Linked DNA regions of Homo sapiens: all the other regions are linked to region 1. Evidence: promoter capture Hi-C in human tissues and cell types (Jung and others, 2019). All regions are on one chromosome and are shown on one strand. Each heading gives the region's core, a stretch centred on a gene start or on the middle of the fragment in contact. The rest is flanking DNA. Distances are from core to core; before and after follow the strand shown.

What was found. Contacts are between HindIII fragments. The study calls those that stand out against the background at their distance.
Region 2: a contact is called between a fragment that was not itself captured here and the fragment with the promoter of E2F8 in region 1, in 3 of the 25 tissues and cell types used here (adrenal gland, bladder and spleen).
Region 3: a fragment that was not itself captured here is called in contact with the fragment with the promoter of E2F8 in region 1 in 1 of the 25 tissues and cell types used here (mesenchymal stem cells).
Region 4: a fragment that was not itself captured here is called in contact with the fragment with the promoter of E2F8 in region 1 in 2 of the 25 tissues and cell types used here (dorsolateral prefrontal cortex and lymphoblastoid cells).

What each region holds. Positions count from the first base shown.
Region 1 is chr11:19,239,446-19,242,545 of GRCh38, forward strand. E2F8 (E2F transcription factor 8) reads right to left here and starts at 1,500. Exons shown (of 13, transcript NM_024680.4): 1 at 1,103-1,500; 2 at 662-785. The coding sequence starts at 676. The region is part of intron 1 of CSRP3-AS1 (CSRP3 and E2F8 antisense RNA 1); the gene reads left to right. RefSeq lists a silencer at 1,570-2,269 and enhancers at 2,390-2,499, 2,705-3,100. The HindIII fragment of the contact is 7,308 bases long and covers 1-3,100 here.
Region 2 is chr11:19,565,259-19,568,358 of GRCh38, forward strand. It overlaps a transcript of NAV2 not described here. Among named protein-coding and RNA genes, the nearest start is that of MIR4486, 8.5 kb to the right of the region's middle. The HindIII fragment of the contact is 7,337 bases long and covers 1-3,100 here.
Region 3 is chr11:19,542,266-19,545,365 of GRCh38, forward strand. It overlaps a transcript of NAV2 not described here. Among named protein-coding and RNA genes, the nearest start is that of NAV2-AS4, 20 kb to the left of the region's middle. The HindIII fragment of the contact is 3,031 bases long and covers 64-3,094 here.
Region 4 is chr11:19,500,235-19,503,334 of GRCh38, forward strand. NAV2-AS5 (NAV2 antisense RNA 5) reads right to left here. Exons shown (of 3, transcript NR_049725.1): 3 at 2,438-3,100. It also overlaps a transcript of NAV2 not described here. Among named protein-coding and RNA genes, the nearest start is that of NAV2-AS5, 5.4 kb to the right of the region's middle. The HindIII fragment of the contact is 5,944 bases long and covers 1-3,100 here.

The sequences.
Region 1 (3,100 bases), core at 250-2,749:
GCATGTAAGTTCACTTTTTTAAACCTATTAGTAGTTGGACACCCCCCACAGACAATTCTTTTGTAATTTTACAAAATGTTTGCCCCCTAAACAGAGCATTTTGCAGACCCCATAAATAAGCTGCCAATTTGGTAAAAAATTATCTTAAAAAGAAATTCAGTCTCCAAACATGTCAAATGCCCTTTCTGAATTCCAAGTTGTTCAAGAATCCTCAGAAATGTTGTAATGAAACTAACGAATTTTTGAAGAGGGGTAGGTTTGCCCCTTTACACTCTTTCTAGTTTTTAATGATTTGGTAGCTGTCTCAGACATAAAGAGAGAAAAGGTATTTTTAAGAATAATAAAATTTGTTAGTTTCATTACAACATTTCTGAGGATTCTTGAACAACTGGAATTCAGAAAGGGCATTTGACATGATTGGAGACTGAATTTCTTTTTAAGATAATTTTCATTTTTTAAACTATATTAATTAAATTAGTATATATTTTAAACTATATATTTTTGAAACTATAAGATAAGGTTCATTTTTTCCAGGTCTTTACAGAGGCTAACCAAGGTTGTGGCATTAAGAAAACACATTGGATAGGGAAAAATTATGGAGTTAAATCAGGATGATACTGAATTTAAAATTGCAATGATGAATACTGAAGTTATAAAGTACCTTTTCGTTCTCCATTCTGTAAATTCCTCATACATTTAGAGTTTAAAAATGAAAAATCTGGAGTTCCTCCCCAAATCCCGATGGTTCAAGTAGTCCAATCAATTGTACTAAAAGTTTTAATATCCTTAAAGAAAAAAGGAAATAGAAAAAGTTAGAGAAAAACAAGAACCAAAAGATCTGTTGAAAATTCCTTCACGGACAAGAGGCTACGGAAACAAAGCCTAACGAAAAATGACAAACTAGATTTACATTTTATTCTCGACCAGAGATCGCCCCACTGAGCGGAGAACGCCAACAAATGCCAGTAAATTCCTTCAGCAAACGGATCGGCGGTCCTAAGACTTCAAGCAACCCACGGAATTTCTAGTGACAGCCCTCTCCCATCTGTAGAAAAGGCGAGCCATTCTCCGGACCCCAGCGAATACTTTAGGAAGCACCCACCTGTTCGCAGATCAGGGCTCCGGACTAAGCGCACGAGCCCAGGTCCCAGCTGAGCGCACGCGACCCCAAGTAACTGGGTACAAGTCTGCATCTAGATGCCTGGATTTCTCCCCTTACACACACGTGCACAGGCTCAGCAGTAAAGTCGTGGGAGGTCGCTTGACAGGAAAGTTCCAAATTCAGTCCCAAAGCTCCAAGTATGCAGTTGGGCATTTAAAGAGTCTTATAATTAAGACTTTTTTTTTAAATTTAAAAAAGGGCTTCCTTAAAGATACAAAGCACTATTTACTCCCTGTTCGGGTGGCCAGTTCACACCACGGCGTTAGACTCCACCTTGGAAGGCTGTATTTGCCCAATAAGGCAAGCAGGTACTGTCCCCCGGCCGCCACTCGCTCAGTGCACTTCCCCCAACTTTCGGCCAAAGGCCCCTCCCCCAGGCCCTGTCCGCCCGCCGCAGTCCCGACAGTTCCCGGACAGCATCATCGTGGTTTCCAGGACAACAATTCCCGACCAATCAGAGGGCCGGAAGCGGGCCTGCGATTGGCCGACGGCGCCAGGGGCGGGGCCGGACCTTCCGCCTTCGATTTAAAAATTTGGCGCGGAAAGTCGGACCGTGGCCGGCGCCTCCCCTTAGCTGCGCGGGGCCTGAGCGCGGGCAAACCCGCGCCCGGAACCACGGCAACCCCGCCCCTCCCCCTCGTTCGCCCCCGCCCCTCTGCGCGGGAGCTCAGCTCCTCCCTCACGGCCCCCGGCGAAGCGGGAGGCGGGAAACGGCCGCCGCCGCCGCCGCCGCCACCCTCCCGAGCCCTCTCCCGGTGCCGTGTCGCCCGGGCGCCGCGCCCCTCTGCGTCCCGCTGACCTGTCAGTCCACCTCACGGCGGGAGCCGGCGGGGGCTGAGCCGGGACTCGTCAGCACCGCTGCCCCTCTCAGGCCCGGGAGCCCGCGTACCTGGCAGTCAGTCTTTCCGCAGCGCCGAGGTGGGTGCCGGAGAGAGACGCCGGGACCGGGACTGGCGGGCCGGCTGGCGGGCAGAGGGAGCGTGACCGTCCAGGAGCAGCCAAGCCCCCGATTTGAAATTAACCCGCTCCCGGCGCGAGCCGATACCGCGGGCGGGGAGGGCCGCTCCCCTCCCCCACGCCCGCTCGCCCCGGCCCCGGCCCCCGAGCGCCAATCCGAGCCTCCCGACCGTAGCCGCCGGCGAATCGGTGCAGGCACCGCCCTCCACTCCCGCCTCTACGGCAGAGTTGGGGGAAAAGTTCAGCAACTTTTTTTTCCTTTTTTTTTTTTTTTGCATACACCCCCTCCCCTTGCTCAAAGTTGGGGAATAAAATTTGGCCCGTCCGGGGCTCGCGGGCTGGGCCGCAGGCGCCCTGCGATTCCCCGCTTGGGGCTATCTCACCCCTGCCCAGCCCCAGGCCGGCTCACCTGCCCTCGGACTCCAGCCGGACCTCTCCCCCTTGCACCCCTGGCATGCATGATTGTGCTGCCCACCGTCTGCCCCGTGCCTCGCAGAAACTGGCGCGAGGAGGGAGAAGCTTGGCTACTGGTGCCTAAGCTCCGTGGGCTCTGGGCCTTGGCCCAGCGGTGAGAACTCAGGTGTAGGAGGAAGAGGAGGAAGGCGGAAAACCCTCCAACCCTGTCCTCGCCGTCTTTCCTCAGGGTCTCCCACCCACTCCTCCCTTTCTCTTCCCTGTTGTCTTTCCCTCTTTTTCCGGTCTCCGAGCCTCAGGCAGCTTTAGCCTGGTTCCCTGTAGAGCCCTAGCAGGGTCGGGGAGACACTTCGATCCTTCGTCCTCACTTTGCAGAACGGGACACCGAGGCCCGGGGCGGCGGCGCTGCCTCGGCTGCACCTGGATCATTTGCGCCCGCGTTGGCTCCCTTTGCTCTCCTCTGCCTTAGACTTTTCTGCGGACTGGTGCTGAGTGTTGCCCAACCGCGCCGAGATCTGGGCGCCGGTCTCTCGATCTGGACTCGGTTTGGCTCGTCCTCCTCTGTAA
Region 2 (3,100 bases), core at 220-2,719, 330 kb after region 1:
TGGCTGAGGTTAAAGCCCATGCTTTTCTTCCTACTCCGCACTGCCTCGAAACCCTTGGAAGTACTCTTCTCCTATTTCCCTAATCTTTCAAATTATTCAAATTCCCATTTGTTCTCCAATTAAAGGTCCCCTCCTCCCTCTTCATCCAAGAGTCCTTTGGTGAGAGCTTCGGTAGTGGCTTGATCACATTCTGAATTTGAGATTTGCTTGTAATTAGCAGTCTTGAAAACACCAGTTCTTTGCTAGGCTCTGCTCCCAGGAACCCAGGAGTCAGGACATCTGAGGAAGGGCTACATGCATCACTGATCTCTCCCTTAACCACCCCTTTCATAGGTATCTGGAATAAGCTCAAATTTCATTGATTTTCCTATGGTGATAAATTGACAGCCCGCCTTTTTTTTCCACAGAAATTAATGCCAGTAAAATGACTACTACAGCCCACTCCCTGCTTTGAATACACCATTAAAATAAACCATGTCTGTGTGCAAACATGTGTGCACCCAATGAGATGTGCTTTTCAAAGACACTGTCATGCAATGTACACAACACTGTGCAGACATTTCAATTTTCCTCCTGGCTGTCTCGCCATCTAAAGACGAAATGCTCGATGTGGCCTGGCATCCAATGGCAGCTGGAGGAAAAGAACTTGCGACTTCGTGTTTCTCCTCTGGAGCTCTGGGCTTGCTCTCATTTGCACTGGTGAATTGTAATGTCAGCAACCTATGGATAGACCGCAGGACACTGGGCTGCAGCATGAAGAGCTATCCAAGGAGATTTTATTTTATTTTATTTTATTTTATTTTATTTTATTTTATTTTATTTTTTTGTGAAACAGGGCTTCGCTCTGTCACCCAAGCTGGAGTGCAGTGGCACCATCACAGCTCACTGCAGCCTCAACCTCTGGGGCTCAAGCAATCCTCCCACCTTTAAGCCTTCTGAGTAGCTGGGACTACAGGTGCACGCCAACACACCTGGCTAATTTTTTTTGTTGTTGCTGTTGGTAAGAACAGGGTTTCACCATGTTGCCCAGGCTAGTCTCAAACTCCTGGTCTCAAGCAATTCACCCACCTCGGCCTCCCAAAGTGCTGGGATTACAGGCATGAGCCACCACTCCCAGCCCAAGGTGGTCATTTTAATGTGCAGTTGTTACAGACAAGCAAATGATCTCCAGTTTGTAAAGATCTCTCTGAGTCAAAAGGAGACCATGACTAAATTCCACCTTTAACTTCAAGGTGATCCATAAACTTGAGGAGTTTTGCAAACGCCATTTGGCTCAGTTACTGAGATTCTTTGTGTCATTTTGGCAGCCACCCCTGTGCCTGAGACAGGGAGCTCAGGCAGCTGGTTGGAGCTGCTTGTGGATTCAGATATTCCAGAACTGCCGGTTATGTAGGAAGTTCATGCTATAGAGAGGAAGATGAGTATGAGACAGAGAATCCATATTTATGAAACACCAGACATTATCCTGGGCACACTCCATCCTCACAGCCATGTTGTGAAGATACTTACATATGCTCTGTCCAGCATCCAGGGAAACTAAGGTCTAGAGGGGCATGATAACTGGCCCATGGTCACCAAGGATCTGAAAGACACACCCACAAAGGCCTAACTCAAATCCATGTATTTTCACCATTGCCTGTGAGAAAGAATCTTCCATATATTATGTTTATTTGTTTGCATTTATTTGTTTTATGAAAAAGGTCTACACTTTCTGCAGCTGTCACTTTTGCAGGCAATAAGGATACCTTTCTGGAACGAGAAATCTACATTAGACCAGAGACTGGATGATGGAGGGCTGTTTCTGTAATATTTATCCCTGCAAAGTAAATATTTCTGTCTCCACCATGTTCCAGAATTTCCCTGCTGACAGCTTCACAGATACTTCTTTTTCTCCTCTCTTGAACATCCAGCTATTGCCGGGGACAGGATGACCGGGTGCAACTGGTTCTTTTCACTTTTGACTGTGGACTTCTTGCAGCCAAAGAAAGAAAGGCTGGCCAGTGATCCACACTGGGTGAGGATTGGAGGCCAGGGCTGTGGAAGGGAAGTGTAGTTTGCATCCTAAGTGGTGATCCCAGGGGACAACCGACCCACTAGAGAGCAAAACTGAGGCTTTCCATGCAATGTTTTGGACCAATGTATATGGTTCCCTGAAGTCATCTTGCAGATTTATTTCTGTAATGTTCTCACATTTATTCCCTTCTCTCTTTTCCCATCAGCACTGTCCAGAGAGGTTGAGTGATTTGCCCCAGGTCACACAACTAGTAAGTGGCTGAACAGGGCATTAATTCTAGGCTTTCTGCCTCCCTGGTTTGTGAGCTTAACCATTGCACTGTAGCTCTAAGACTCTTGGTGAGCCAGGCCCCCCTTTGTCCCCAGCCTTGGCCCTCAGACATCTCACTATGGCCCTTTAACCTCCAGCCCTGGAGCTTAATTCAGTCCCTCTGATAGACCACATTCTTCCTTGTCTTTAGGTCTTTCCATAGGCTATTCTGCAATCTGGAACTCATTTCCTCACTTTACCCTCTCTTTCAAAAAGAAAATCCTCCAGGAACCTACTCACAGTCATGCTCAGGTTAAAGTTCCTCCTTCCGAGGGGTCTCCCATCACTGACCTTCTCCCCAGGCTGCATACACCCTGCCTCATGCCCAGTCAGGGGCTCTGTGTACCCTCGCATCCTAACACCGATCACACTATAGTGTAACTTCATATTTCATATTCTGTCTCCCCCTGGCTGTGCACTCTCTGAGGGCAGGTGCTTGTTCACAGCTGTGATCCTGCAGCTGATGCAGCGCCTGGCTCACAGTAGGTGCTCGGTAAATGTTGAATGGATGAAACATGAATGAGCAAGTCAGAGAACCAGTGCCTGTGCCCATTTGCCCCTGTTGTTCCCTTGGCCTGGCACATTCTTCTCTAGGCTTTGGCACAAGCCACAGCTCACATTCTTCCTTTGAGTATCACTCTGTGAAGCTTAGGAGGCCACCAGGGCTGTCTTTGGGGGCTCAGAGATCTCTAGGCTCAGGCAAGGATGCCCAGTAAAAATAGTTTTTGTAGAAATGAGCTCCAGTACTGAGACCCTGAGAGAGGCTCTAGACGTGAG
Region 3 (3,100 bases), core at 329-2,828, 300 kb after region 1:
GACACTATGCTAGGCATCTTCCATGCCTATCTTATTTAATCTTCATAATAACCCTCTAGGGTAGATACTATAATACGATTATCCCCATTTCTCAGAATGAGTGAAACAAGTCATAGAGGGTTTAAGGAATTTGTTCATGGCCCCAAGGCAGTAAATGATGGAGTCAGTGAATTGAGGAAGGATCACTCCAGAGCCCGAGCTCTTAAGCACTTTGCTCCGCTGCCCAGAGTAAGAATAGCTAACATTTGTGGAGTATTTACTAGGGGTCAGGTTCTATACTGAGGGGTTCCATATATACTGTCTCACTTCATTGTAACAAGTCATGAAGTAGATTTTATTATGCTCATTTTAGAGATGAGGACCCCAAATGTCCAGAGGTTTTAATTCATCGAAGGTCATAAGCAGAGCTGTTACTCTAATCCAGGTCATTTTGACCCTAAACACATACTCAATTAATATCTCTAAGTGCTGCCTATAAAATATTCTACAGGTGAGAAAACTGAGATTCAGGAAACATGGAAGTTTGTCAAAGGTCTTGAGCTAGAAGGCAAGAGCCAGGAGGTCCGCCTGACTCAGACTGTGAGCACCACCTTGCTCTCCCCTTCACCTGAAACCCTCCCCTTCCTGGGTACCTCTCCTGCCACCAGGACCACAGAGGAGAAGGCAGGTTCCCTGATCAGGGATGAAGCCCGTTTCCCTTTAATAAGGTTTCCATGTCACTGGTTGAGCATGGGTCCAATCACCTAAGTGTGAGAACTGCCTGATTAGAGAAAGTTTATTATCTTTTCCAAATTCTGAGATTCTAAGAGTTCCTTCACCCATCCTTGGTCATCTTTAAGATAGGGCCATAAAAAGCAATATAAATTTGAAGGTCAGAAAGCCCTGGGTTCAAATCCCTGCTCTGCCATTTCCGATATGGGTGACTTAAAGCAAATTGATTAACCTCGTAGAAGCTCAGTTTCCTTGTCTATAAAGTAGAGATAAAAATGACTGCCTGGTATGGTAGTCAGTCTTCCTCTTTTGGAAGTTTGGGCTTCCTGCTGAAAGTCCTTTCAAAATATATCTATGAAGTTCCAGGAACTAGGGCTTGAACTGCCGATGATGCATGCTGTCAACCAACGTAACAGTAATCATTGCTATCATCAGTGAAATGTCACTGGGCTTTTTGTGTTTGTTTGCGTGGTCCTGTATCTATTCTTTTTCTTTTATCGCACCAAATCTCACCTTATCTCACTGACACAGCCTCTCCTCCTCATCTTCCTCTTTTGGGAAAGGTTCAGAATGGCATAGGGATTAAAAAACGTTCAATTTGGAGTCAGATATTTTGCCATTTTTGACTGTGTAACTTTATCCAAGATAGCTACCCTCTATGAGCTTGCCTTCCTTTGTCTATAAAAAAGGAGTGAAAATACCTACCTCCCTTCATAGGATCATTCAGCGTTAAATGAGATACTCATAGCAGGTGTTCAAAAGTTACTTCTCTTTCTCTTCCTTGTCCTCTCTTGTCTCACTTGGCTAACTCTGAGGCTGACCTCTCAACTGCATCAAATACTATTTGTCACCTCCTCCTCTTCCTCTTATAGCTCCCCAAGTATTTCTAGAGTGGCCATGCTCTCGGTTTGAGCTGAGGATAATCCATCAATTATTACAATGAATGTGAGTGTACTCTGTAGCCTTGTGAAAAGTATTGTTCAAATGTAAACTACTTATTTTGCTCTTCCTGGCCAAAGCTTGTGAATATATACTTACTACAACATGATTTGCACTGTATTCATTCAAATAATATTATTGAGCATCTTATGGGTTTGTGGTTCTCAATACTGTGCCTGGCACATAGTAAGTGCTCAATACATCTTGGATTGCTAAAAAATTATTGAGTGTATGAATGAATATTTCTTTGAAATAGCAATTATGTTGGCAGAGTTGATTTCCATCAAAACCGAGTGATTGAAGGAGAATGAGAACGAGATGGACTTTGGTCCTAGACTCTCTTGACTCTAATCTCGAGTTCTTTTCACTATCAGTCTTTCCAATACCAGCAGAATGGGATCCGTGCTGTAAGACAGACACAGGTTTCAAGGGTGACAGTGTAGACTGAGGCCACCATAAAGATCAGGTTCAGATCTCACATCCCCAAGGCTTACTGGTCAGTACCCCAGTTAGTAGAGTTTGGCATCTAGAGATCTGAGTAGGCATCAAGGCCTGAGCTTCTGCCTCCTGGATTCTGCCTCCCTGGAGTCCATATTCCACACATGGGAAATTAAAGTCAGGCAGGGATTAGCTGGGCCACATTCCACCCTTGAACACCTGTCTATGTTGACAGCTTGGAGTGGGGTACAGAATTCATCCTCTGGAAGAAACAGGGTGTACTGTGCAGCCTCTTCCCAGTTCCTCACCCCCTGGCTGCTTACCTGGCCACCTTATCCTGCTAGACACAGTGCACAGAAAGCATGGAAAGTAAGAAGGGAATTAGGGACATAAAAGAACGAGCCCCAGCTTTGGAGCCAGCTAGGGCTGGAGGTGAGCCTGCCCCTGCCACTTCCTAGCTGTTAAGATTGCTGGCAAATCTTCCAAACTGTCTGTCAGCCTAATTTCCTTGAGAGAGAGTAAAGCAAAGGAATGAGAATCGTAGTACCTGCCTCACCAAAATGTTGCTAGGGTGTCTGTGTCTTGGCTCCACACATGTGGAACACCTAGCAGATGGTTGGGCCAAAGTAAATGTCCCACTCTCCACCTCTCTACCCTGCTTTCAGCCCCAGAGACAGCAAAGCAAATGTACATTGGAGTTGAGCAGTTGCCTTAATCAAAGACCCTTTCCCTCCCATGAAGTCGTTCTGGCCTTGCAGTTCTCATTCATTTCTTGTGTACCTGCTGCACACCACAGCCCTCCACGCCAGTGTGGGCATTTATTATTGGGCGCTCACAGGAGGGTCAAGCTGCTACCCAGACCTAACTGGCAACTGCTGTAAGCTTCATAAGGTGGGCAGATTTGTGTCTCCATACTGCCTCCAGGGGAGCTTGGTTTGGGCCGGGCAGCCAACTGAATTATTCATGACATGTGTGCTCTCTGTCTTTTTTCCTCCAAGCCTCTTTGGTTTAG
Region 4 (3,100 bases), core at 302-2,801, 260 kb after region 1:
GTGAGAGGCATGTGAAGAAGGAACCAGTCACCCAACAGCCATTTGACCATGTCATAAGAGTGAGCTGAGCCACAGCCAGCAGTGTCCAGCCACACTCACCCAAGATCACAGAGCTAGACTCATAAGTGAAATAAATACTTCTTGTTTTTAGATACAGACTTTTAGGGTAGTTTGTTACATACTGTTAGTGTGGCAATAAAAAGCTGATACACCCATTCCTATCCCCAATTACTATCCAGGATAGAGCTTGAAAAGTGTCCTGAAGAAATGATTAAGCACCTCTTGTCTTTTTTTAAATTTACTTTTATCACATCTGAAAAATATTTGGTCAGGAGGAAGATAGTATTAGTTGCTTAAATTACTTTTAAGCATTATGAACTAGAAAATTCCAGCCATCCCTCGTGGGCTATCCCTTGAACAGAGTATAATTGACTGGAATAACAATACTAATGATATTAAAATCTTATCTCTGCAATGCACTTTAAGACTTATAAAACTTTCAGATGCTTTATCTAATTTGCTCTGATTCCCTGAGGAATGCTAGTTCTGATGGGTAAGGTTGCTCAGGCTGGGTCACACAGCTAGTGAGTGGCAAAGATCTTTTGATACAAAGTATACTAATTTTCAATGGCTGCTGTAATAAATTACTACAAACATAGTGGCTTAAATCAACACAAACTTGTTATTTTACACTTTCATAGGTTAGAAGTCTGACAGCGTCTCACTGGGCTAAAATCAAGGCATCGGAAGGGCTGTGTTTCTTTCTGGGTGCTCTGGGGGCAAAATCTGTTTCCTTGACATTTCCAGCTCCTAGGGGGTGCCCACATTCCTTTGTTCATGGCTCCTCCTTCCATCTTCAAAGTCAGCAACCTTGCCTCTCTCTGAACATTCATCTGTAATCACATCTCTCTCTGACTGTCTACAGTGGGGAAAGTTTCTCCACTTTTATGGATTCGCATGAATAGATTATGCTCACCTGGATAATACACAATATTCTCCCCCATCTCAAGGTCCTTAATTTTAATTACATTTGCACAGTCCCTTTTGCGTGTAATATATTCACAGATTCCAGCAACTAGGGTGTGGTTATCTTTGCAGGACCACTATTCTCTCTATATACATGGAGTCATCTACATTTCCAGTACCTCATCTAATTAGGATTCTGTTGGCTACCGACCTGCCTACCTTTCTTCTTCTTTTTCTTTCTGGTTGATGGTACAGTAGCTATAATTCCACAACTCCACTGGTTGTAAAACCTCAGTGTTTGGCCAAGCAGGAAGAAATGCTAAACACATTCCCAAAAACAGATCTTGAGGCAGAGTCGCCTTTGAGTATGTTGAGCCCAAAACATTTTATATTCTTATAAAATCACTTATTGCTAGCTACAGACATGTTTCTGATTAAAATGGTCCAAAGGGTGTGTTCTTATAGCACATATTGCTTACTCATTTCTCTTAGTGTAAAGATACTAGATACTGTAGGAGAAATGGATTTATTTTATGGTAGGGTAGCAGCAGCAGAAATTACTTCATGCAAATGAAGCTTGGCAGTGTGACTTCATGAATAAGAAATGAGCCGGCGTCTCTTCTTTCCACAGGCAATATTGCGCTCTGGGAAATTAATTGTGGCATTCGTTGGGTGGCCCTGGCTTCTCTGTTGGAGTTTCAGGCAGACAAAAAGATGCTGCACCCAACTGGATATAAAGCAGTTATATCCTTTTTAGCTTTGCTCCGCATTGTAAGTGAACAGTCGATGGGTCTCAAGTCTCCTAAAAGCGTCTTGAGACCTTTTAGAAATTACTCATGGTGGAAGCCATACGAGGCACTGAGCCACACATAGTGGCCATGAATTCAGATCATCTCTATTAGAAGAGATCTATCTAATAAATGGAAGAGATCTAAGATACTCTAGGTTTTTTTATTGAGAATATGCCTCAGTAGTTAAGCACATGGTCTCAGGAACAAAAATATCTGGGTTCAAATCCCTGCTCTGCTCCCCTCCAACTATATGACCTTTGGCAAATTACTTAATCATTCTGTGCCTCAGTTTCCCTATTTATAATTTAGAGATTATAATTGCACTTACCTCATAGGCTTGTTCTGAGGATTAAATAAGTAAATCGACATAAAGCACTTAGAATAGAGCCAAAGAACTCTACTGACACCAGGCTACAGAAGTGCCAGATAATGTTACCTTAGTTAAAATTAAAGGCAGGTACGCTTTGCTGATGACAGCTATAGGTTTTCATAGTGCAATTAAGATGAAGCAGAAAAATGGGGCTAAGAATAAGAAGTCTTGGAGTCCAGCCTCACTTGTTGCCCAGCTATCTAGGCAAGTCATTTACCTCGTTATACCTCTGTTTTCCCATTTGTTGGATGGGGCAAAGGTTGTTTCAGTTATCTCTTACTGCATAACAAATCACCCCAAAATTTAGTAGTTTAAGATAACATCATTTTATTATGATATAACTTTGTGGGTCAGAAATTCAGGCAGGCTTTCAAGCCATCCCTCCAGCAAAGCAACTTACATATGAGTTGTAACTATTGGCTAGAACACCTACATGCAGCCACATTAGCATGGTGGCTTCAGAGTTTGAAGTCCATTGCTCCCAGAGACAGTATTTCAAATAGCGGAGAATACAAACTGCCAGCTTCATAAGTCCTGGCTCTGGAAACTGGCAGTGTCCACATTGTGTTAGTTGAAGTAGGCATGGAACCTATCAGAATTCCAGGAGATGGGACCTGGACTTCGCCTCTGGATTGGAAGACTGTCAGGTAATTTTCTTTCTTCAGTTTCCAACATGATTTTGGTCTTATGATCATGATGTGTGGACACAAAGTACTGTGTAAACATGGTCTTGATTAAATTGATTAAATTGAGTTATATAATGCCTTTTTGAATAGACCTCTTTTTAGAGCAATTTTGGATTTACAGTAAAATGGAGCAGAAGTTAACAGAGATTTCCTATATACCCCTTGCCCCCCACACATACACAGCCTCCTCCATTATCGATATCTGTCACCAAAGTAGCACATTTGTTATAATTGATTAACCTACACTGGCACATCATAATCACTCAAAGTCCATAGTTTACATTAGG